7 separate regions of the Homo sapiens genome follow, and regions 2, 3, 4, 5, 6 and 7 are each linked to region 1. Evidence: promoter capture Hi-C in 16 types of primary human blood cells and fetal thymus (Javierre and others, 2016). All regions are on one chromosome and are shown on one strand. The core of a region is centred on a gene start or on the middle of the fragment in contact, and the rest is flanking DNA. Distances in the headings are between cores, read along the strand shown.

Evidence for each region. Contacts are between HindIII fragments. The CHiCAGO score rates a contact against its expected background, and 5 or more counts as called.
Region 2: a contact is called between a fragment that was not itself captured here and the fragment with the promoter of NR4A3 in region 1, in 2 of 17 cell types (M0 macrophages and M1 macrophages). The highest score is 7.4, in M0 macrophages.
Region 3: a contact is called between a fragment that was not itself captured here and the fragment with the promoter of NR4A3 in region 1, in 3 of 17 cell types (fetal thymus, erythroblasts and total CD4 T cells). The highest score is 6.2, in fetal thymus.
Region 4: a fragment that was not itself captured here is called in contact with the fragment with the promoter of NR4A3 in region 1 in 1 of 17 cell types (M0 macrophages); the score reaches 7.0 in M0 macrophages.
Region 5: a contact is called between a fragment that was not itself captured here and the fragment with the promoter of NR4A3 in region 1, in 3 of 17 cell types (M0 macrophages, M2 macrophages and M1 macrophages). The highest score is 10.0, in M0 macrophages.
Region 6: a contact is called between a fragment that was not itself captured here and the fragment with the promoter of NR4A3 in region 1, in 3 of 17 cell types (M0 macrophages, M2 macrophages and M1 macrophages). The highest score is 7.0, in M0 macrophages.
Region 7: a contact is called between a fragment that was not itself captured here and the fragment with the promoter of NR4A3 in region 1, in 2 of 17 cell types (M0 macrophages and M2 macrophages). The highest score is 6.0, in M0 macrophages.

The regions. Positions count from the first base shown.
Region 1 is chr9:99,820,282-99,823,425 of GRCh38, forward strand. NR4A3 (nuclear receptor subfamily 4 group A member 3) reads left to right here and starts at 1,604. Exons shown (of 8, transcript NM_006981.4): 1 at 1,604-2,126. RefSeq lists a silencer at 1,698-1,747 and an enhancer at 2,322-2,834. The HindIII fragment of the contact is 5,731 bases long and covers 1-2,626 here.
Region 2 is chr9:99,318,717-99,321,860 of GRCh38, forward strand. LOC124902231 (a long non-coding RNA gene) reads left to right here. Exons shown (of 2, transcript XR_007061691.1): 2 at 1-83. Among named protein-coding and RNA genes, the nearest start is that of NAMA, 55 kb to the right of the region's middle. The HindIII fragment of the contact is 1,803 bases long and covers 602-2,404 here.
Region 3 is chr9:100,327,258-100,330,401 of GRCh38, forward strand. TEX10 (testis expressed 10) reads right to left here. Exons shown (of 15, transcript NM_017746.4): 6 at 2,674-2,912; 7 at 1,883-2,018; 8 at 530-705. Among named protein-coding and RNA genes, the nearest start is that of TEX10, 24 kb to the right of the region's middle. The HindIII fragment of the contact is 5,792 bases long and covers 1-3,144 here.
Region 4 is chr9:99,339,391-99,342,534 of GRCh38, forward strand. No RefSeq gene overlaps it. Among named protein-coding and RNA genes, the nearest start is that of NAMA, 34 kb to the right of the region's middle. The HindIII fragment of the contact is 629 bases long and covers 1,302-1,930 here.
Region 5 is chr9:99,358,776-99,361,919 of GRCh38, forward strand. The region is part of intron 5 of NAMA (non-protein coding RNA, associated with MAP kinase pathway and growth arrest); the gene reads right to left. It overlaps LOC124902232 (a long non-coding RNA gene), which reads left to right and starts at 557. Exons shown (of 3, transcript XR_007061692.1): 1 at 557-862; 2 at 2,596-2,725. The HindIII fragment of the contact is 2,508 bases long and covers 206-2,713 here.
Region 6 is chr9:99,375,943-99,379,086 of GRCh38, forward strand. No RefSeq gene overlaps it. Among named protein-coding and RNA genes, the nearest start is that of NAMA, 2.3 kb to the left of the region's middle. The HindIII fragment of the contact is 7,833 bases long and covers 1-3,144 here.
Region 7 is chr9:99,402,578-99,405,721 of GRCh38, forward strand. The region is part of intron 2 of LOC107987011 (a long non-coding RNA gene); the gene reads right to left. Among named protein-coding and RNA genes, the nearest start is that of NAMA, 29 kb to the left of the region's middle. The HindIII fragment of the contact is 6,505 bases long and covers 1-3,144 here.

The sequences.
Region 1 (3,144 bases), core at 354-2,853:
CCTCCTTCCTTCCGAGGCTGGATTGGAACCCGCCGCAGTGCAGAGACTCGGTTGCTCTCGGCTGGGTCAACTTTCGGGGCATTCTCCCACGATCCTCTCCGCACCACCGTGTCTGAATTGGAAGTGGAGGCGAAGAAAGATATACATGCCATATTTACCTATATGTAGTTTGTTTTCAAGTTTCTGGTCCTAGCTCGAACCTTCTTCGATTCTGAAATGTGTGCTGTCTACAAAGGAATCTTGTATCTCCCCTCGGCGCAGCGCCCCCCGCCCCCGCCACACACACACAAATTGGGACAGGTCAAACATATAAAACGGTATTTGTGATTCAAGCGGACCACATGGGGACCACTCTATCTGCATTGTTTCACTCAAATATTTTCTCCTGTCCAAAAATTCATTTCTGAAAGAGACTGCGTTCACTCAGCAGCAACCTTTGGGACTAGGGGTCTTTAACTCTGATAAATTTTGTTTTCATCAAGAAATTTACACTTAAATTTATCATTTCCAGGAAGAAATTGCTCTCCTTCATACAGTCACCCAGGCTTTCGGCACACCATTTCATGACAAATGTGTCCGAGGAGACCAAAGCAAATCCCCTAGCGAGGGACTGACTAATAAGTCCTGTTGATTGATTTCGAAATGTTTAATTTGGGAGATGTGGGCGGAGGGCATCTACAACCATCAAAAAGTGAAAGTGCTAGTTGAGAGTTCCATTTCTGACCCGGTGCCGGGGAGGAGGAATGATTTGCAATAGTCAGACCCGCTCAGCTGTTCAACACGTGTGTGTTTGTTTTACACACAGAGTAGTTTCTGCTGCAGCGCGCGTGTGCATGATGGATGTGCACTTCGCTGGGTTATAACGTGTCCAGTTAAGAAACCCACGCCGTACGTGTAAAGAAATCAAACCTTATCCCCGGAACCATCTGCATCCCTGTGTGAAACACGCACCCAGTAAATGATGCGGGGAGGGGGGATTAGCCTGGGCGCAGAGGACCGGAGCAACGTAAACAGCTTTAGAACCTATGCAAGAGGAAAGTGCAGCTGCACCTCAGGGCGTCTTCGGGCTGGTGCCAGACGCCTTCTGCACCGGCTGCCAGGTCACTGGAGCTGGTCAGAAGCTGGCTGGCGGAGCCTTCCCTTTCGGAAGAGCTGTCCTCTCCCTTACCCCCCTCGCCCTGGCTCCGTGCCTCGGGGCAGCCTCGGAGGCGCGCCAGCAGCACTCCTCCAACTCTACTCCACCCGAGCCTGACAGCTGGGCGGTCCCGCCTGACCCGTGGGCAGGCCGCTGCACCCTCCCGCAGACGCACGCCCTGGCGAGCGGTTCCGCTGCAAAAAGAGAAGCCCCCAGGCCGGGGCCGGCCGTGCGGCGGAGTTTCCATTGTGCGGCCGTGCGACTGGCCGAGGAACGCGCGCGCGCGCGCGCGCACACGAACACACACACCCTCCCTCGCACACGCGGAACCGGCTGGGCCAGGGGAGGGAGGAGGAGGGTGACGTAGCGTCCCATGGCGTCACATTGACGTCTCGCATTCCAGGCACTCTATGGAGAGGCCGCTAGGGCTCCTGTGGCATAAATGACGTGCCGAGAGAGCGAGCGAACGCGCAGCCGGGAGAGCGGAGTCTCCTGCCTCCCGCCCCCCACCCCTCCAGCTCCTGCTCCTCCTCCGCTCCCCATACACAGACGCGCTCACACCCGCTCCCTCACTCGCACACACAGACACAAGCGCGCACACAGGCTCCGCACACACACTTCGCTCTCCCGCGCGCTCACACCCCTCTTGCCCTGAGCCCTTGCCGGTGCAGCGCGGCGCCGCAGCTGGACGCCCCTCCCGGGCTCACTTTGCAACGCTGACGGTGCCGGCAGTGGCCGTGGAGGTGGGAACAGCGGCGGCATCCTCCCCCCTGGTCACAGCCCAAGCCAGGACGCCCGCGGAACCTCTCGGCTGTGCTCTCCCATGAGTCGGGATCGCAGCATCCCCCACCAGCCGCTCACCGCCTCCGGGAGCCGCTGGGCTTGTACACCGCAGCCCTTCCGGGACAGCAGCTGTGACTCCCCCCCAGTGCAGATTTCGGGACAGCTCTCTAGAAACTCGCTCTAAAGACGGAACCGCCACAGCACTCAAGTACGTATGAGATTCGCCCAGTTAATAAGGGGACTTGCTAAAAAAGTTGGCTTGCTGGGAAGCGTCGCTCCTGAAATTGACAACTTTGAGTGTGGGGTTCCCTCCCCTGACCTTGCCGCCCGGCTCCGGCTTTGCTAGCCCAGCGGCCCGTAGGTTCTGATCTGAAACTTTTCCCCTGTAGTGGGCCCGCGGGGATCTCTGGAGCTCGTGGGATTCCTCCCCCCACTCGAAGAGGCGAAAAGCCTCTAACAAAGAGGAGGACCGGGATTTGTGCTATAGCGGCTCCAGCGATGTAATTCAGGGTATTTCGGCTCTAGTTGTCATGGTAATGATGCTCTCGGCGGCGGCGGCGGCGGCGGCAGCGGCAGCGGCAGGGAGTTGCAGCTCCGGTGATGAACGGCAGTAATTTTCCTGCCTTTTAAGTAGGATTGAAAATAGGAGCTCTGGTGGGTCCAAGTAAATGTTGCTAATGGTGGCACCGAGCTGGTTCTCTGGAAGGAAGCTTAGGAGGGAAGGGCCTAGGCAGCGACGGCCAGAGTTTGCAGACGCACTCGGAGGACCTCAGGAAAGAGGGCGTAATTGTAGGAATGTGGCTTATTGTATTGAAATGAGCCTGGGGTTCCACTAGGCACGTCTGCCTGTCGTCGCTGACATGCCGGTTTACACTTTTCCCTTAGGAGGTAAATCGGGTGTAATTGGCGACTCCCGCACACTGACACGTGTGGGGACGGTGTCCCTCTCCTCTGGACGTTGGCTCGGTGTGGGAAAGGCATGCTTTTTCACGGACAGAACTCGCGCTTTTGGAGAAGTTGCTCCGAGTGTTTTACTCTTAGTAGAAATGAAAGTTCTCGGTGGTGAGACGAGAGCGGTCATGCGAGCGCAGCCTGCGGAGACTGACTTCCAAAGGCACCTCTCCAACCTGTTGGAAGCCTCGGGGCAGTGGTGAGGAAGAACGCATTTGTCCCTTGATTTCCAAAAACGTTCTTGGAGATTGCCTTTTATTTATTTATGCGTCCGG
Region 2 (3,144 bases), core at 253-2,752, 500 kb before region 1:
TTACAGCTGCTAGCATTACCTTGTTTATTTTGTTGTTGGTAAACTGGTAAATCTATAACTAATAAATAACAGGAACATACGAAGGATGCCTCAGAAGCTCCCTCTTCCTCTCTACTAAAGGTACAGGAATGGTTATTATAGTTTAAAAGGCAGTTTTACATAGTCATTGAACCCTTACAACTTGGCATATTTACTGTTATATGGAGAAGATTGGAATTCAGTTAAGTGGCTTCTCCAAGGTCACTCAACTGGCAATTAAGAGGGAGATGCGGACTCCAACCAAGGCTTGTCTGGTATTGCAGCCTCTACTACTTCTGTCACGGCACAGTAATAAATGTGAAATTCTATGGGGATAAGTTCCCTTTCTGTCAATATCATGTCCAAGATGTTTGGACATGTCCTTCTCCCTCCTTCTTTTCACCTTTGTCTCTGCCAGAGTTTCTTTAGGATGCAGTGCCCAAGGCTTGTGATTAAAAACAGCTGCAGAAGCAGGAGCAAAACATTACCTAAAAATAAGTAGCACCTCAGAACACAATGTGCATGGACTTCTGGGAGGTGGACAGAGTTGGTGGGGTGTGTGACATAGAGCTGCCGCAGGGAAAGCTTTGGTTCTCCACAACAGGCATCTCTTTCTGTGGTTGGCTATTCCTGGGAGTCTCAATGAACTTGATCTCAGAATCCAGGGCAAAAAAAATGGACTCACTCTTCTGCTAAGGAATGAGAAAACTTCCTTTAAGAGTTCATTATCCAATTGGTTCAAACGTATTTAATAAAATGGAAGAACTCTCATCGAAAATATTAGGTAAAAAAAATGATGCAAAATAGCCTAATCAAAATTTAATTAATATTTTTATACACACACAGTTTGCAAAAAGATTGAAAGAATACACCTCAGTGTTAACAGGAGGTATTTCTGTATGATGAGCACAGGGTTGAAATTTATTTATGTTTAAATTCTTTTCTGTCATTTTTAATTTTTGTAAAATAAACACATACTACTTTTGGAATTAGAAAAACATGTTAAGAAAAAAAAGTAGAGGTTAGTTTGCCCTGAATTAATTTAATTTTAAAATAGACTTTGCTTGTTTTCAAATTATAGCTTTGTCAAGAGATACAAAAATTAAATGAGCTACATGTTCTGTAACAAATAATAAATTTATATTTGTGTTATAAATTATATAATGCGCTATCAGACTAAAATTGAAAGCTACCATACAGATTATTCATATAATATTCAATTTCAAACTTTTAGATTTATTCTGAATTGCCTAATCCACTACAGAGTTCAGATAACATAAATTTTCATTTTGTTTTTGATATTTTGATTTTATTTTTCCTAAAAAAATGACACAAGCAAATAAACTACAAATGCAAACCTGTGTAGCTAAAATTGAAAAGCAAACTAGATCACAAAACATGTATATAAATTTGACAGAAAGTTGAGATTTACATTTTTTAAAGAGTATTTAAAAAGTTATTTATAAGAAAATAATCAAGTCTCTAATAGGTAAATGAGCAAAAGCTATAAGCATATTTTTCTAAAAATATATAACTAATAAAATAACAAATGTATAAATGCATTTATACATTTCATAATCATAATCAATGCAATGCAATATAAGCAACTATTCTAGACCCCAAATCCTGACAAAAATAATTGTGAAACTAGAAAACTCCTCTCCAGTCTTCTTGGAATTACCTTAGTGAGCTTCAAGAGCCAGAGCTGCCACTCTGATTCTTTCTTTTAGTTATTCCAATTATGGAAATCTGCTTTGCAGGTAATTCAACAGAAAAGTTTAAATGAAGAAAAAATTAATTTGAGATGGAGTCTCACTCTGTCACCCAGGCTGGAGTGCAGTGGTGCGATCTCAGCTGATTACAACCTCTGCCTCCTGGGTTCAAGGGATTCTCATGCCTTAGCCTCCTGAGTAGCTGGGATTACCAGTGTGTGCCTCCACACCTGGCTCATTTTTGTAGTTTTAGTAGAGACAGGGTTTCACCATGTTGGCCAGGCTGGTCTTGAACTCCTGACCTCAAGCAATGCATTCCCAAAGTGCTGGGATTACAGGTATGAGCCACGGTGCCCGGTCTAATATTTTCTTAAAGTATAAGGAAAAATGCTTGAAACAACTCAACTGATTCATGGAATAGGAACAGAAGTAAATTTTTGTGTCCCGACTTAATGGAATAATATAAAGCAATGATTACAATGGCAATTATGAAAACAATAGAACTATAGAAAATATTTATCATGCAATATTAAATATTAAAGAATATTCAACTATATTTCTGCTATGACTTTAATAGTAAAATTATTTGCACCTACAATCAGGGATGGAAAAGAAGAAAAAATGAAAGTAGTTAGATCTCAGTGAGGTTGTGAATGAACTTCTCTCCTTCTTTAAGCTTTAAAAAAATTGTTTGAATGTATATATGAATGAAAAGAAAGAAAATTTATATTTCTTCTTATCTCCATAAAGAAAATGTTTCTAAATACGACTCTCTGTGAGATTTGAGTTGATATAATACCTCTTTTAGAAATAAAATGATTAAAAATCACTACAACAGATTAATTAAACAAATATTTATTGAACTTTGTGTTGCTTTCCATTGCTGCTGTAACAATTTCCACAAACAGGGTGGCTTAAAACAACACAAATATATTATCTGATGGTTCTGTAAGTTAGAAGTCAGACACAGGTCTCACTGGGTTAAGATCAAAGTGTTGACAGGGCTGTATTCTTTCTGCAGGCTTTAGAGGAGAATCCATTTTCCCCTCTTTTCCAGTTTCTAGTGGTCACCTGCATTTCTTGGCTCATGGCCTCTTCCTCCATCTTCAAAGCCAGTAATGGTGGGTTGAGTCCTTCTCCACATTGCATCACTTTGCCCCTCTCTTCTGCCTCTTCTTCCACTTTTAAGGACTCATATGATTAGATTGGGCCCACTGGGTTAATCTCGCTTATTTTGAGGTCAGTTGATTAACCACCTTAATTGCATCTGAAATTTTAATTCCCTTTTGCCATGTAAAGTAACATATTAATCATCATTCTGCCTACTCCCAGCTCTTCCTCTGTGCCAGATGTAGTGCTAGGAGATGCTGGGGAATTGGAGAGATGGGTACAAAGATGAAGTTCATGGTTAGAT
Region 3 (3,144 bases), core at 323-2,822, 510 kb after region 1:
GTTGCACAACCTTAGGAATATATTTTTTAAAATTCATTGAACTGTACATTGTAAAATGGTGAATTTTATAGTATGTGAATTATATTTCAATAATTATATGCATACATACATCCCAGTTATGTTTTAATAATTTTGCTTAAAATATTAGTTAAGTCAGTCCTAGATGAACAAAGAATATATGAAAGTCATACGAGATATTCACTATGATTAAATAAGTAATAAAGATATGTCTTGCCATCAGAGCTTCAAAGGAATTTTTAAGTATCAGATTAGTTTTGAATTTATGAATAGCAAGTGGTTTGAAAGACAATTTAAGAATGCAATAAGCATCAACAATCATTAACCTTCTATATTCTAATAAATATTGAAAATGAATTTACTGTATGATGTTTTGTTCTGGCAATTTAACCATGGTATTACTAATTCAGACTAAGGGAAAGGCAAAATTACAGAGCTCCCCTTAAAAACTTCTTTTGTATATCAGGGTGGATCAATGACTACCCATACCATTAAACAAATGAACTCTTACCATAAATTCGGAGGGCAGTAGCTTGTAAACTTTTTAGTAATTCTTTATTTGCTCGTGCTGCAGCGGTATGAATGATATCGATAAGCTGTGTAGAGAGCTCAGGATTTCGGGAGCCAAGATGAGCAAGTTGCAATGGTAAGCCAGCCAGCCAACGGGATAACACTTTACTACGATATCTTAGAAAGGCCAAAGAAGAATAAAATGTAATACTCAAAGACAAGGGAAATAAATTTAAACAAAAAAAAAATTTTTTTTTAACTTAAATATATCACAAAGTGACTAATTATGTATCAATAATACCACATTTATTCATTTAAACATTTGAGAACCTACAAGATGCCAGCATCATTTTCCAAGGCTTTACCCACTAAATTAATGTTAACTGGGGCAGTATCTAAATTGTATTTTTATTTTGAAGGATAGAGACACTTAACTATTTATCCTAATCGGTGTTATTATACTATATTAACAAATGTACACATTCACCATAAGTTGCTCCCATACAAAATAGCTTCAAACTTGTGCTATTTTTATTTCTTTAGAATACTTGCTGGAGTGTAAATGTCTTGAATAACAGTGAACATTTTCACTAGGTCCCCTGAAAGGCTGGTGATTCTATCATGGACTTTGCTGTCAAGATAGACCTGAACTTAAGTCTCAGCTCTGCTATACATTAGCTACATAATACTCACCAATTTATTTATTTTCTGCTTCCTTCTGTAAAATGGAAGCTAACAGTATCCACCTCACAGTAGCAGTATGAAGATTATTGAGATTATGTAAAGTAACTTGGCTTAAAGTAAATACCAGAATACGTTACAACAACTACCTATATATGTTGAGGTATCCCAAATCTGTATCTTCCTCTCAAACATTTCTGACTATGCCAAATAAACCTCAAACTCACCTTATTGAAAAATTCCTTAGTCCACTCTTTTGTTGTCTCTCTCTGATAGCACTAAACTAAGCCAGAAACTTTCTCATCTTCTATTGCCCTCACTCTTATCCCATATGCCTCAATATGTCACTAATGGCTAGAGATTCAACCTCCGTAATTTTTATGGGAGGGGAAGAGAAAGGGCTGAGGTTGTTCCAACTGTCCCTTAGCTATAAGTGGACAGGTAGAAATGCATGCCTAAGCAGTCTTTTATCTGTTCAGATATGGGTATAAAGTTTACTGGCACTATTACGTATGCATCTTTTAAAATTTTATACCATTTCTTAAATGCAAACAAGTAGGATTAAAAAGAATGAACTTCTCCAAAGATTTAATCTCTCTAAAATTATTTAAATACTTAGACTACAGAAAAACTCAGCAAGAGAAAAAAGAAAGGAAAAATAACAAGATTTTACCTGAATCTACAAGATCTCAGTTCTTCTGTCTGATAGATTTTACTGAAAAACTTCAATAACAAAGTCCGAACTGGAAGGATAAGGCCCCTCTGCTGATATAATGTATAAACTGCCTTAATAAGAGTCTCTGTGTCCTCTACAAACAGAAAGAAAACAACTTGCATATGAATCAAAAAATGTTTAACAGCCCCCAAATTCCTCTGAATGCACCGAAGTACTTTACTTTCTTCCTATGGCAAAGCCAATTTTAGCCACAAATAGACAACTACCATTGAAGTCCTATAGCAATAGCCTAATAAAAAAGTCAAACCAATCAGTAGTTACAGTATAAATTTTCTTAACAACAAACCTAGGAATGACAAAAACCAGAATATTAGAAAGGCAATTTAGATGGGAACCAAATAGGAAAACTTTGTTTTAAAATCAAAGAATTAGTAAGTCACTCTAAAACTGACTTAATATAACTTAACCTTAAGCTAGAAAAAAGGTAAAGAGACAGGGAAGATTCATGCCATATCAATCAAGGGAAAAAGTTCTCAAGTTCTAGCCAAACTAGATCAGAAGAGGGTAGAAATCTTTATCAATCTGCTTCAGAGTGGACCTACCCACTTAGAGATACTCTGAGCCATAAACAATTTCAGTGTTCAAGTAGACAGTAGCTACCTTTTATGGCTTGAATACAATTAGCCTGACTACATGGAATGTTTACAAGCCATCATTTCAAAGCTAGACCTTAAGATAGCACATGTAAGAGCTCCACTCTTAAATAAGGGCAAAGTAGCATCACCTACCTCTGTTTGGCTGTATTTGCATTAACCTCCAGGATACTCCCAGCAATCTGTTCAGTTGCTTACTATTTAGCCTAGAGCCATCTTCAAGGGTCTCTGTTACAAATTTCCTTATCATTTCTATCCAACTGCAATCCTTCTGCAAAGTTGACGCATTTGCCAGGGAGACCATGATATCAGACAGTGTTAAATTCAGTAAGAGATGATCTATGTTATTGGAGAGAACTGTGCAATGCTTGATGCTAGAAACAAAGACACACACATCTATAAAGCATTACGTCTACCATGCCTGCTTCATTAGAATACTTAAAATAATCTATCAATGGAGTTTTAAAAAATTCCCTTCTAGAATTAATAGATGGCCAAGAAGATAGGTGCATAGGCAAGACTTAGGCCACAGTTCTATAAATAAACCATTTCATTATGGAATCAGAGTTGTTAAGAAGGTACAGAGTGTATACAGCTCAATTCATT
Region 4 (3,144 bases), core at 366-2,865, 480 kb before region 1:
GTTGGGAAGTACTATTCAGTCATATTCACACACCCAGTGATAGACCTGGAGCCGTGGTGATGCCTTTGGCTATCCTAACTTGTGTAGCTGACTTGCCCATGCTAAGGGCTCACCCTAGGAAGAAGGCCTGTGGGCCTGGGAGAGAGGCAGGTTTTACTCCCATACTCAAAAGCACTGCAGGAGAGAGTGTTTCCTAACTTCAAATTGCTCAAAGACATGAAGCTCAGGGTCAGCCTCACCTCTCGATTTGCAGCTTCATGGAAGACCTATTCGAAGTAAAATATTAAAACATTTTTGTTTTTAACACGTAATCACCAAACAGTGTAATCAAATACTCTTCTGGTCTTTTCCTCTCTCTATAAGAATCCTTAATATCTTTGTGCATAAAATGGGGGTAATTGCTTGTGGGATTATTGGAAAGACTGAATGAGATAAGGTATAAAATGTACCGCTCAAGGATTTTGTGAATAGGAGCTTCTTCGTAGAAGCTATTGCCAGTAAATCCCATGCTCTTATACCTCCTGTTTTGTTTACATCAGCAACAGGTCATGACTATCCTCCCTCATATTCCTCAGGGTCCTGAAAGTATCTTTTTGTTGTTGTTGTTTGTTTGTTTGTTTGTTTGTTAGAGATGGAGTCTCGCTCTGTCACCAGGTTGGAGTGCAGTGGCGCGATCTCGCTCATTGCAACCTCCAACTCCCTGGTTCAAGTGATTCTCCTGCCTCGGCTTCCTGAGTAGCTGGGGTTACAGGCAGGTGCCACCATGCCCGGCTAATTTTTGTAATTTTAGTAGAGACGGGGTTTCACTATGTTGGCCAGGATGGTCTCGATCTCCTGACCTCATGATCCACCCACCTTGGCCTCCCAAAGTGCTAGGATTACAGGCGTGAGCCACCGCGCCTGGCCCAAAGTATCTTTTTTTGCGAAACCAGATTTCTCAGCCACGAGCACAATGAGTCCAGGGGATCATCAACCCAGTGATCCATTTCTTTGGAACTCTACTTGCATGATTTTCCATATTTAATGACATTCCACCAGCAGGATAAACATACACGCAAGGTTGAATCATCTTTCCTTTCCCCTTGGATCAGGAACCCAAGAAAACAGATGCAGGAAGCAGGTGGGAACGCTGGTGAGCAGGATGTTGCTTCTGCCATGCTTCTACTGCTCAGCGGCCCCAGCGGGGATGTGGTGGGAGGAATGAGGGGGCTCTTCAGCTATCTGGGGGCTCATCTCAATAATATACAGCAGGTCTTCAGACAAGGGACACAGTATGGGCTGCCTAAAATAGCTCTCCCAGAAGCTTTCAATCAAGGCCAGAAAGCAGCAGTTTCCACAGCAGCAGTCGAGAGGGTTTTGGGAGAGCCACACCACACTGCTGTTTTGTTTAGAGCAGGGGTGTTCAATCTTTTGGCTTTCCTGGACCACAATGGATGAGGAATTGTCTTGGGCCACACATAAAATACACTAGCACTAACGATAGCTGATGAGCTTAAAACAAATACATTGCAGAAAAATCTCATAATGTTTTAAGAACGTTTACAAATGTGTGCTGGGCTGTATTCAAAGTCATCCTAGGGGCTGGGCGCGGTGGCTGACGCCTGTAATCCCAGCACTTTGGGAGGCTGAGACAGGCGGATCACGAGGTCAGGAGATCGAGACCATCCTGGCTAATACGGTGAAACCCCATCTCTACTAAAAATACAAAAAAAAATTATCCGGGCGTAGTGGCGGGCGCCTGTAGTCCCAGCTACTCGGGAGGCTGAGGCAGGAGAATGGCGTGAACCCGGGAGGCGGAGCTTGCTGTGAGCGGAGATCGCGCCACTTGCACTTCAGCCTGGGCGACTGAGAGAGACTCTGTCTCAAAAAAAAAAGAAAAGAAAAAAAGTCATCCTAGGCTGCATGTGGCCTGTAGGCTGTGGACTAGACAAGCTTGGTTTAGAGATTCAGGACACATGGACAATGAGGGAAATTCTATAGGAACCTATACAATTTGGCTGCCAAGGGAGAGAACTAACACACATCTGGCAAGTGTATTCTGGCTAGAGGAGGAGAAGGGGTCCCCAGAGAATATCTCTTTGAGCACTTTTAGGGGATAGAAGGGTTTCCAGATCGGATGAAAGAAATGACAAAAAAGAAAATTAAAGATGAGGAGACCTCCAAAGAGATAAACAGAAATCAAAGTGTGGAGAGGGGCAAGTGGAAGAACATGACATTTAAAAATGTATATACAGATACCCTCACCTTATTTCATAGCAGGCCTTGAAGACATTTATAGAAGCATACACAATACAGAAGGATAATACATAAATGAAAGGATTTGGGTTTCAAAAGGCTTTTGAAACTTCTGGCTAAAGATGGCAGCATAAAGGCATTTGTAATTCTTGTCTCTCCTTAGAAACACACTGAAAACAAACATGAATAAAACAGAGGGAAAGAAAACTCTTCCTATTTAGTGGAACAAGGAAAAGGCCACAGCCCCAAACCACAAACTATGAACCACACCGTGAAATCTGGAGAAAAATGAGAGAGGAATAGGGATCACCTCAGGGCTTGAGCAGGGAAGATTTCTCTAAATGTGAGTGCTTCCATCCCGAAAGGAGCCTTTGATTAGAATGACCCGCTCTAAGGCTGGATGGGCCACTGGATAGATAGGAATGTCCCTGTGGAGGACCAACGCGTCCTAGAGAACATCTGGGAAGTTGGAGCTAAAGGTGAAATCCACCATTTCCATTTTCCGAGATCAACTCCTGGTTAAGAGCAATGGCTAGAGTCGAGATGGGTGATCAAGGCTTGGGAAGCAGAATTTGCTATTTGCCAGTGAGCCTGTAATTTAAAAGGACTTGCTGTGAACACCATGGACCAAACATTGCAGGAAAATAAGCATCCAGTGTAAAGGAAATAATGGCTTTGATGAAACAGGGTCAGAGACAAGAAACCTAACCCAAAGTTTCAGACTCTTCCAGCTCACTTCTGCTCATCTCCACATGAATCTTCAATAAACAGCTAATGGCATCCAAAGCCAATAAGAAACACAGAAGAACCCACACGGGGTTAGGTATAGGTCCTGCGAAGAAAGGAGGCAGATGACTTACGAGGGGGCACAGCATAAGGAACATCTTGAGTATGTCTGAAACATCCAGG
Region 5 (3,144 bases), core at 210-2,709, 460 kb before region 1:
CGAACTAGAAGGACGGTGGTGGGGACAGTGAGGAGGGAGCAGGTTGTACATGCCTGTCCCATCTGCCTGGCACTCATGAGCCCCATGAGAAGCAGGACAGATGTATTTTTAGAAATCCCCTCATACAGAGTAGCCACTCGACACTGTGTGGCTGCCTCACTGCCACAGAGTCCCAGGGACCAATGCCGAGCCCCCACAGGGGTCAAGCTTCTGGGCTGTGAGCTCACAACCCCCTACCGCCCTGCTGAGCAGGCAAGAATCATGCTCAGGTGATGAACAAGCACAAGGCAAGAGGACCCAGATGACCCTGGAGAGCATCCCACTGGAAAACGCAAGCACGTGGCTCATGGAGAAATGGGTGCTGTTGCCCTGCACCCCCAAAAAGAGATTCTTACTCCCTAGGATCAGAGGCATGGCATGGCTCCAAGCCAGGGTAGCCCCTGTACAGTTTAAAGGTGCCAGGGTTGGAAAGGACCCCTCTTCTGCCCTCACCCCGCCCAGTGCTTGAGCTCCCTTTGACATTCTTTTCAACACGGGCTCAGCTTTCATGCCTCCTTTTCCCTTTACTCCATAATCAGCACCCTAGACTTAGCCACCACTATCTCTCGCCTGCTCTGTCTTGCCACCTTCTTTCTCCGTCTGCTCCTGCTCCCTCTTATCCTCTTATCTGTCTCACCCTGCAGCCGGGAGTCGTTGCTCGCCATAGATGTAGCTTGTGACAAAGTGGCTGGACCCTGCCAGAGAAGGAGCAATGTTATTGGAGAGGGACGGAGCCAGAGCAGCAGGAGAGAGCCGCTGGGCCATGCCGGTGGGAGGAGGAGCCACGGAAAGGACAGTGCCCCGGGAGCCACCAGCAGCAAGGGTAAGATGTTTAATGGAGGGACAGGGCAGGCAGTGCTTGGATGGCACAGGTAGGTCTGGTACCAGGCAGGATTTTATTGTTTGATGAAGATTCATTGCCCTTGATTCTTCTCCTTGGGCTTGTACTTAATGATGGTGAGAGATGAGGAGGATGAAGGGGAGGTGCATACTCTTTTTCCTGAATGACAAAGCTGGGAGCTGGCGATGGCTTTGGGAATATGGGAAGTCAGTTTTCAGAAAGCTATTGGAGTAAAAGATTGTCATGTTATAAACTTCTAAACCACAGATGAACAGGCTTGAACAAACTGTTAGAACACCTAGTGTTGATTATTGAGAGTGTTTCTGCAGTGTGTGACTTGGCATGGTTCATTCGTGCTGTCCCTGAGAACAGTGACATTTCAGATTAGCAGTATTTTGGGGTTCCACTTGAAAAGAGCCCACCCCTCAGCTGACTGGTGCTGTCCTCTGCTGGGTGATTTAATGGTCAGGCATGCTTGGTGGAGAGGAAGCAGCATCACGGCAAGGCACCTGTACCCATCTGCCAGTTTGGATGAAGTGCCAAATCACAGGGTCAGTAATGCTTCTTGGCCAGAAAACATGAGCTGAGCAGCTGTCCCTGCCTGCTATCCATGAGAGGTCCTCTTACCAATTCAGCCTCAGGGAGGGAGAGAGTCCCCTGTAGTCAGACGGGTATGTGAGTGTCACAGCTAGGGGCAGAGGGAGACCAGGGAACCTGCCCTTAGCCACTCACACAGATATGAATCCAGGAAGCTGAAAGGGAGCTCTTTCAGGCCAGGATGGAGGATACTCCCAGCATCCCCTATGGTCAGATGCATGGGTCCTTGGAGCACTCAGGGACCAGCCTAGGAGAAGAGATGGGAGCTGAACGTGTTATAGTTAAATAATTCCTAGATTGCAGAACATCTCCCAGCTTCATTTTTCTGTTTTGTAAAATGAATATAAATGAGATGAAGGATGCAAAATGCCCATAAACTGAATGGCATTATTTGAGTCTAAGTCATTATTTGCCCTGAAATTTTTGCATTTAACATTTTTGTCAACAATTTGGAGGCAGATACTGGATGCAGGCTTATCAAACATGTACAGAAAATAAAGCTGGGAGGGCTAGCTGAAACACAGCTATAGAGGACTCCAGATTGCAGAATCTGAAAGCTCAACTCTCCCCTGGCTTCCTTCCCCTGGATGCCTTCTCTGTGTGACCCTCAGAAAGCACAGTGCCCCTAACAGAACTCCATTTTTTCGTGGTGTGGCTGCTGCTTCTCTGTAGTGGGCAGAGAGGCCAGGGATACTCCTAAACACCCTACCATGCTCAGGGTTTCTCTGTCTCAGCAGTATTGACGTTGTGGACCAGATCATGGTGTTGTGGGAGCTGTCCACACGGTAGTATGGTAGGATGTTTAGCAGCATTCCTGGCCTCTGCGCTATAGATGTTAGTAGCACTGCTGCTCCTCTCTTTGTGACAAACAAGTGTCCCTGGGGTACAAAACTGTCCCTGGTTAAAACCTCTGCTCTAGATTCATCCTTTGCACTTCCCTGCCTGCATGGTAGCTCCTCTGGTCACGTCAAAGTTCTCATAGTTCCTTAAATAAACAAAACTTTTCCACATCTTTCCCAGAACTTTGCATGCACAGATCCCTTCCCACTCCTGCCTTTGCCACTTCATAAAATCCTGTGTATCCTTGAAAACTCATCCGAAGCATCCCTTCCTTGCAGACGCCACCCCAGATGCTCCCGGACAGCTAGTGCACTCACAGCAAAGTTCTCCTGGAGCCCTGAGTGCATGGATTTAATTTTTCTTTTTGCTTGTGATGGTCTCTCCCACTGGACTATAAGCTTCTTGAGGGTAAGTCCTGGATCTTTCTCACCTTTGCTCCCCAGTGCCTGGGAAGTATGGCCTAGCACAGAGTGGGTGCTTAGTGAATCCACCTTGAGTAACATTGTTTAATGGATCACTACTGGCTGGTCACGGGACATACAATGCTGTAGGCAAAAAGCATATTTTCTGGATCTTAATCATGTAAAGGGTCCAGTACTCCACCCTCAGGTATCAGAGCACCTCATCTCTTTTGCAGAGAAAAAAATAACTTATTTTAATCTCCAGGATGCTAGAGAGGTTTAGAGAAGTTTCCTCCTGCGAAAACCTTTTTCAGGCTCTGCCTTTGAGAAAACACTGAAAGGATAGCAGCAGGTAGCACTTTCTCTTCAAAAGATGCCTGAGGATGGGCACCAATCCCAGCCAACCTTTCTGCCTGTGTTGGGAGC
Region 6 (3,144 bases), core at 351-2,850, 440 kb before region 1:
CTAAGAGCAAGCCAGAGAAGATGCTGGCCACCTGGGTGCTCTGAAAGCCTGAAGGGTCCTGGTGGGATGGGGGCTGCACACAGCTGGAAGTGGCTGAGGAACACTTGCTGGGGGTCCAAGCCTGTACAATGTGACTTGAGGAAGTCTTGGCCCCTGTCTGGGCCTCTGGTCTCAGCTGTATAAAGAGGTGGATTGTACAATCACTGGTCCTCAAGCCAGGCTAAGCAGCACAATACTTGGAAAGCTGACGACAACAACAACAAAATGCAGTCTAGATGCCACAGCCCTAAAGATTTCAATTCCATTGGTCTAAGTAGGCTTCCATATCTGTACTTGTATAAAAAGCCTCATTGGTGGTTTGAATCTATAGCCAGGTACAGTGAGTTGAATGGTTACCCTCCTCCGGAAAAAAAAAAAAAAGTACCATGTCCTAATCCCCAGAACCTGTGACTATTACCTTATATGGAAAAAGGATCTTTGCAGATGTGAAGGATCTTGATATGAAGAAGATCATCCCAAATTATCTGGTGGGCTCTAAATCCAGTGCCAATGTCCTTATAAATGTAAGGCAGAATGAGATTTAGCACAGAGAGGGAGGAGAAGGAGGCACTGTGATCAGAGAGGCAGAGATTGGAGCAATTTGGCCACAAATCGAAGAATGTCTACAGCTCCGGAGCTGGAAGAGGCAAAAAATGGATTGTCCCCTACAGCCTCCAGAGGGAGGGCAGCACTGCCAACACCTTGATTCTGGACTTCTTGTCTCCAGAAATGTAAAACAATAAATTTCTGTTGTTTTCAGTCACTCAGTCACGTGCCCTGGGCTTTATGAATCAGATATGCCCAGGGAAGAGTGTAGTTTAGAAGTGGACCAGGAGGAAGGGGGCTGCCCAGAACCCACCTTTTGGCCCAAGCAGCCCTGGAGACCTGCAGCTTTGTGGGTGTCAGAGCCTGAGGTTCTGGTGCTGCTGAGAGCTCAGCATCATTCGTGAAAGCCGTAGAGTCTATGCCAAGGTGGGGTCTTCAAAGGTGTGATCTCACTGCGTGGTTTGGGCACTTTTTCTGGCTGGCTACCTTTAAGCTGGACTCTTTGGCTATCCTGGAGATTCCTTTGAAAGGAAAGGGAATTCTAAATGTAAACGCCACCTCACAGACACTTGTTAAGTGTCTCTTCTCCTCCTCCCTCCTGCCTCTCTCCTCTGCCACGTCTGTCAAACTCCTCAGGGCAGTGCATCATTCTAAGCATTGTGGGACCCGTGAACAGGGATATATTGGATCTAAGTTCCCACAAAATGGCACTGATTGTTTGAAGATGCTTAGAGTCCCTGCTCCTCTGTGGGAAGGGGTGAGACTCTCCAGGATTGCTGAAGGCTGCCAAGGTAGAGTCAGGGAAGGTGCAGATATTCCTTCAGCTCCTCTCCTCTCACCTGCCCTGTTCTAGAGTTTAAATTTCAGTAAGAATAAGTAGGGGAATTTTCACTGGCTCATGTGTGAACTTGAATGTAAAAATCGACTGCAGGCTGGGCACGGAGGCTCACGCCTGTAATCCCAGCACTTTGGGAGGCTGAGGCAGGTGGATCACTTGAAGTCAGGAGTTCGAGACCAGCCTGGCCAACATGGTGAAACCCCATCTCTACTAAAAATGCAAAAATTAGCCAGGCATAGTGGCAGGCGCCTGTAGTCCCAGCTACTTGGGAGGCTGAGGCAGGAGAATTGCTTGAACCGGAAGGCGGAGTTTGCAGTGAGCCGAGCCAAGATGGCGCCACTGTACTCCAGCCTGGGCGACAGAGAGACTCCGTCTCAAAAAAAAAAAAAGAAAAAAAAAAAAAACAGATTGCATTTATTTCCAAGCTGACTGCCCTGTTGTTTCCCTAGACACCTCTTTGGAAAGGTTTGTGCTTTGCAGCAAGCTCACTTGTTCTGAAGGACCTTCAATGCAATGGCAAAGTGGTTATGGATAATCCAAAAACAAATGAGCAAAAAGGGTAGGAGGAGAAACAAAGAGCAGCATTAGCAAAGGAGAGGTGAAAGACATCTGGTGTTAGTCCTCCTTACCCAAACTCCACAAACGGCCATTGTCTGTACAAGTCATCTGGCCATGAACCCCTGACCAGTGGGGGTAGTGTGGGGGGGTGGCAGTGGTGGTGGTAGAGGGAGCAGGGACTCAGACAGACCTGAGTTCAGGGACCAACTCTGGCTTCTGCATCAGATATGAAATCCAGGCCATTTAGGCAGATTCTCCTTCCTCTCTGAGCCTCGATTTTAAAATTTCTTATATTTTATGTATACCCAGTCTGCCTTGTATTGTTATTATTTGCAGTCATTGTGTTCTAAAAAGCCTCCGGGAACACTGCACTGGCAGATACTGAACCACTGCTCAAAGGGGAAATAACAGGGTTAGGTTCCAGTGAGCCTCTGGTTACAATTCTGTCAATAATAAAACCTAATAATGTGTGCGTTTCTGTTTAAAGACATCTTATTTAATATTATTGCTGATTCATTGACATTGAACTCACCTGTTTAAAGATAGCTTATTTAATATTACTGCTGATTCATCGACACTGAACTCATGGCCAGCAGCACTGTAACTGACGCCTGAACGAAGCGTTTCTACCACAGCTGTTTTCTCTGTAAGGAGCATCACAGCCTCCCTGGGCTTACTTCAGTGCTATGCTGGGGGACCATTTGAAACAGTGAAATACCAAACAAAAAAGCACAAAAATGTGAAAAATGTGGTACCGAGTAGACCACAAAAGGACACTTGTTTATAGTGTGAGAGCTGAAACAAGGAGGCAGAGTGTCGCCTTGTTTGACCTCAGCTGGGAATGTGCACATTGGGTGGCTGCAATTTTTTGCCATTCTGCTCACAGCAAAAGTGCTGCATGTATTGATTTGGGGGTTAAAAATTAATCTTAATGAGTAGGCAGATTTGCAAATATAGAAATTATGATTAATGTAAACTGTATATAAATATAAATATATATTCAGTTGACTTTTGAACAACACAGATTTGAACTGTGCGGGAAACTTAAACAGATTTTCTTCCACCTCTGTTACCTCTGAGACAGCAAGATCAATCCTTTCTCTTCCTCCTCCTCCTCAGCCTATGCAATGTAAAGATGATGAGGACGAAGACCTTCATAATGA
Region 7 (3,144 bases), core at 276-2,775, 420 kb before region 1:
AAATGGGTAGGTGCAGGTTAGTGTCAGGTCTGCCCACCTTGATTTTTTTGCTCATAGCTCAGCTGCAGGAGAAAGGATGGATGGATTTCTAGATTACCAAAAAAATTCTCCAGAAGCACAAAAGGGGGTTGAAGTGACCCTTGTGAGACTAAGACATACTAAGTTTGTTCAGTCATTAATTCCACAAATATTTACTAAGCACCTATTATGTGTTCAGCTCTAGGCAATAACAGAAAATAAGACACAGTCTCCTTCTCAAGGAACTCATAATTTAGAGACAAGTTAATAGAAAATTAGAATTTGCTGTGGTAATTAGAAGTACTAGATGCTTTGAGGCTATAAGCACCTAAAGTAGCCCTGCAGGATGAGAAAGGCCCCACAGTCTGAGCTCAGTTCTCAAGGATGAGGAAGGGGGAGTCTGGGGAATGGGGAAGGGTTGTGGGTGTCGGGTGGGGGAAGAATGATTCAGGAAGAGGGAACTGCAAATGAATGGATTGGAGGGAGAGAAGGAACAGCCTGGAATTCAATTCACAGCTCCTTCAGCTGTGATGGGATCCTGGGAAGTGAGGGTGGCCATCATTCAGGGCCTCACTGCTGGCGACGAAGTGTCCATATGCCACTTTGGGTATATGGAGGAGGCAGGGTAGAACCAGAGGGTGCCCTGGGGCACTGGGGTGGCCTTTCTGGAAAGTCACCATCAGAAGCCCTGAAGAAGCCCTGGAAAGCCACACCACCTCCTCTCCTGGCAAAATGTGGTGTCGTCTTAGTCCAGGAAGGTGGGGCAGAGGATTGAGGACATTCTAGGGGTCTGTTGCAAGAGAAGACAGCATCCAACTCTAAGAGGCAACAGAGGTAAGAGCAAGTTGGCAGGGTTAGCTGGCAGAGACGTGGGGTGATGAGATCCACTGTGAGGAGGGAGCTGTGAAAGATGCCCAGCCTGCTTGGAACATGGGCCCCATAGTAGCCAAAAGACTGGAAAATATTGTGGTAAAACAAGCCAGACAAGTCAGACAGGCTGATTTAATTCCTCCCCATTCCAATGTTAGAACTTCATTATTACCAACCAGGAAGACTGGCTGGCAGGTACCCCAGGGATAAGCCTGGAATCTTCAGATTTTGGGGATGTTATCTAAGAGCTCTCAGTAGCAAAAGGAGGGGAATTTGGGGCACAGAGTCTTTACAGATCTCTTATGTTTGAATAATATATTAAGAGTCTACCACTTTATGTCTGCCACTGCATAGATACTCACCCCAGACCTGCGAGGTCTGCTGGGTAGGGGTGTGGTAACATCCCTAGTTCATAGATAAAAATGGTAAGGTTCAGAGGGGTCACCCAGCTCTAGGAGGAAAAACCAGGGCTCAAATACTATGGCTTGCTTCCCATGATCCTTGCCATCTCCTATGCTTCATCACCTATGTGCTTCCATGCTGCAGATTTCGAGGTTTGCAAAGGTTTAGAAACCATTCATTCTACATGTGATCCCATGGGAAGGTGCTCATCATATATTGCCATGTGAAAAAGGCAGGCTGCAAACTGAATTGCAATACTGTTGCATTTTTGTGAAAGAAAAGTATGCCCATACACACTCTTCACATGACCATCGGACAACTTCTGAATGAACAAACACCAAAATAATGGCTATGTTTTTTTCTGGGAAACGGACTTTCCAGGAAATTTAAAAAAATTCTTCCTTACCTGCATTTTCTTTTTTTATTCTTTTTTTCTCTTCTTTCTTTCTCTTTCTTTCTTTCTTTCTTTCTTTCTTTCTTTCTTTCTTTCTTTCTTTCTCTCTCTCTCTCTCTCTCTCTTTCTTTCTTTCTTTGTCTCTCTCTCTCTCTCTTTCTTTCTTTTTTAGATGGAGTCTCACTCTGTCACCAGGCTGGAGTGCTGTGGTGCGATCTCAGCCCACTGCAACCTCCGACTCCCTGGTTCAAGTGATTCTGCTGCCTCCCTGAGTAGCTGGAATTACAGGCATGCACCACCAGGCCCAGCTAATTTATGTATTTTTTTTTAGTAGAGATGGGGTTTCACCATGTTGGCCAAGATGGTCTCAATCTCCTGACCTCGTGATCCGCCAGCCTTGGCCTGCCAAAGTGCTAGGATTACAGGTGTGAGCCACCGCGCCTGGCCCCTTACCTGCATTTTCAATGAATTAATATAAATTACTTTATTTAATTAATAATTATACATGGACATAAATTACTGCTTTATACTTAATATATTAATTGTTATTAATTAATGTGTTACTTCTTTTTCTGTATATGTTTTATTTTTTATTGACATAGTTGTACATATTTATGGGGTAGGGGTGATATTTTGATAAGTGTACACAATGTTTAATGATGAAATCAAGGTAATCAGGGTATCCATCACCTCAAACATTTATCTTTTCTTGTGTTGGGAATGTTCCAATTCTCGTAGCTATTTAGAAATATGCAATAAATTATTGTTAACTATAAAGCTGTGGTCTCCCTATTGTACTGTTGAAATTAGAACTTACTCCTTCTAACTGTATTTTTGTACCCATCAACAAACTTCTCCTCATCCCCTTCTTCCCCTACCCTTCCCAGCCACTGGTAACCATCATTCTACTCTCTACCTCCTTGAGATCCACTTTTTTAGCTCCCACACATGAGTGAGAACATAAGATATTTGTCTTTCTGTGCCTGGCTGCTTTCACTTAACATAACGTTCTCCAGTTCCATCCACATTGCTGCAAATGACAGGATTTCATACATTTTTATGACTGAATAGTATCTCATTGTGTATTTAAACCACATTTATTTATTCATTCATCCATTGGTGGACACTTAGGTTGATTCCATATCTTGGCTATTGTGAATAGTGCTGCAATAAACATGGGCATGCAGATATCACTTCAACATACTGATTTCCTTTCTTTCGGATATATACCCAGCAGTGGGATTGCTATATCATATGGTAGTTCTATTTTTAGTTTTTTGAGGAACCAAATTATTTCTTAATAAGGAGGATAGTGAAGAGCTGAGGAGTGGAGGAGATTTCACAGCTTATAGTGACAGCTTCTGAAAAGAAACACTATCCATGAGGGCCAATGTGTTCTAGAAAAAGAAGTCATATTCAGAAACTGGCCAATAAGCTCATGTCAAAGTGTATCAGAGTGT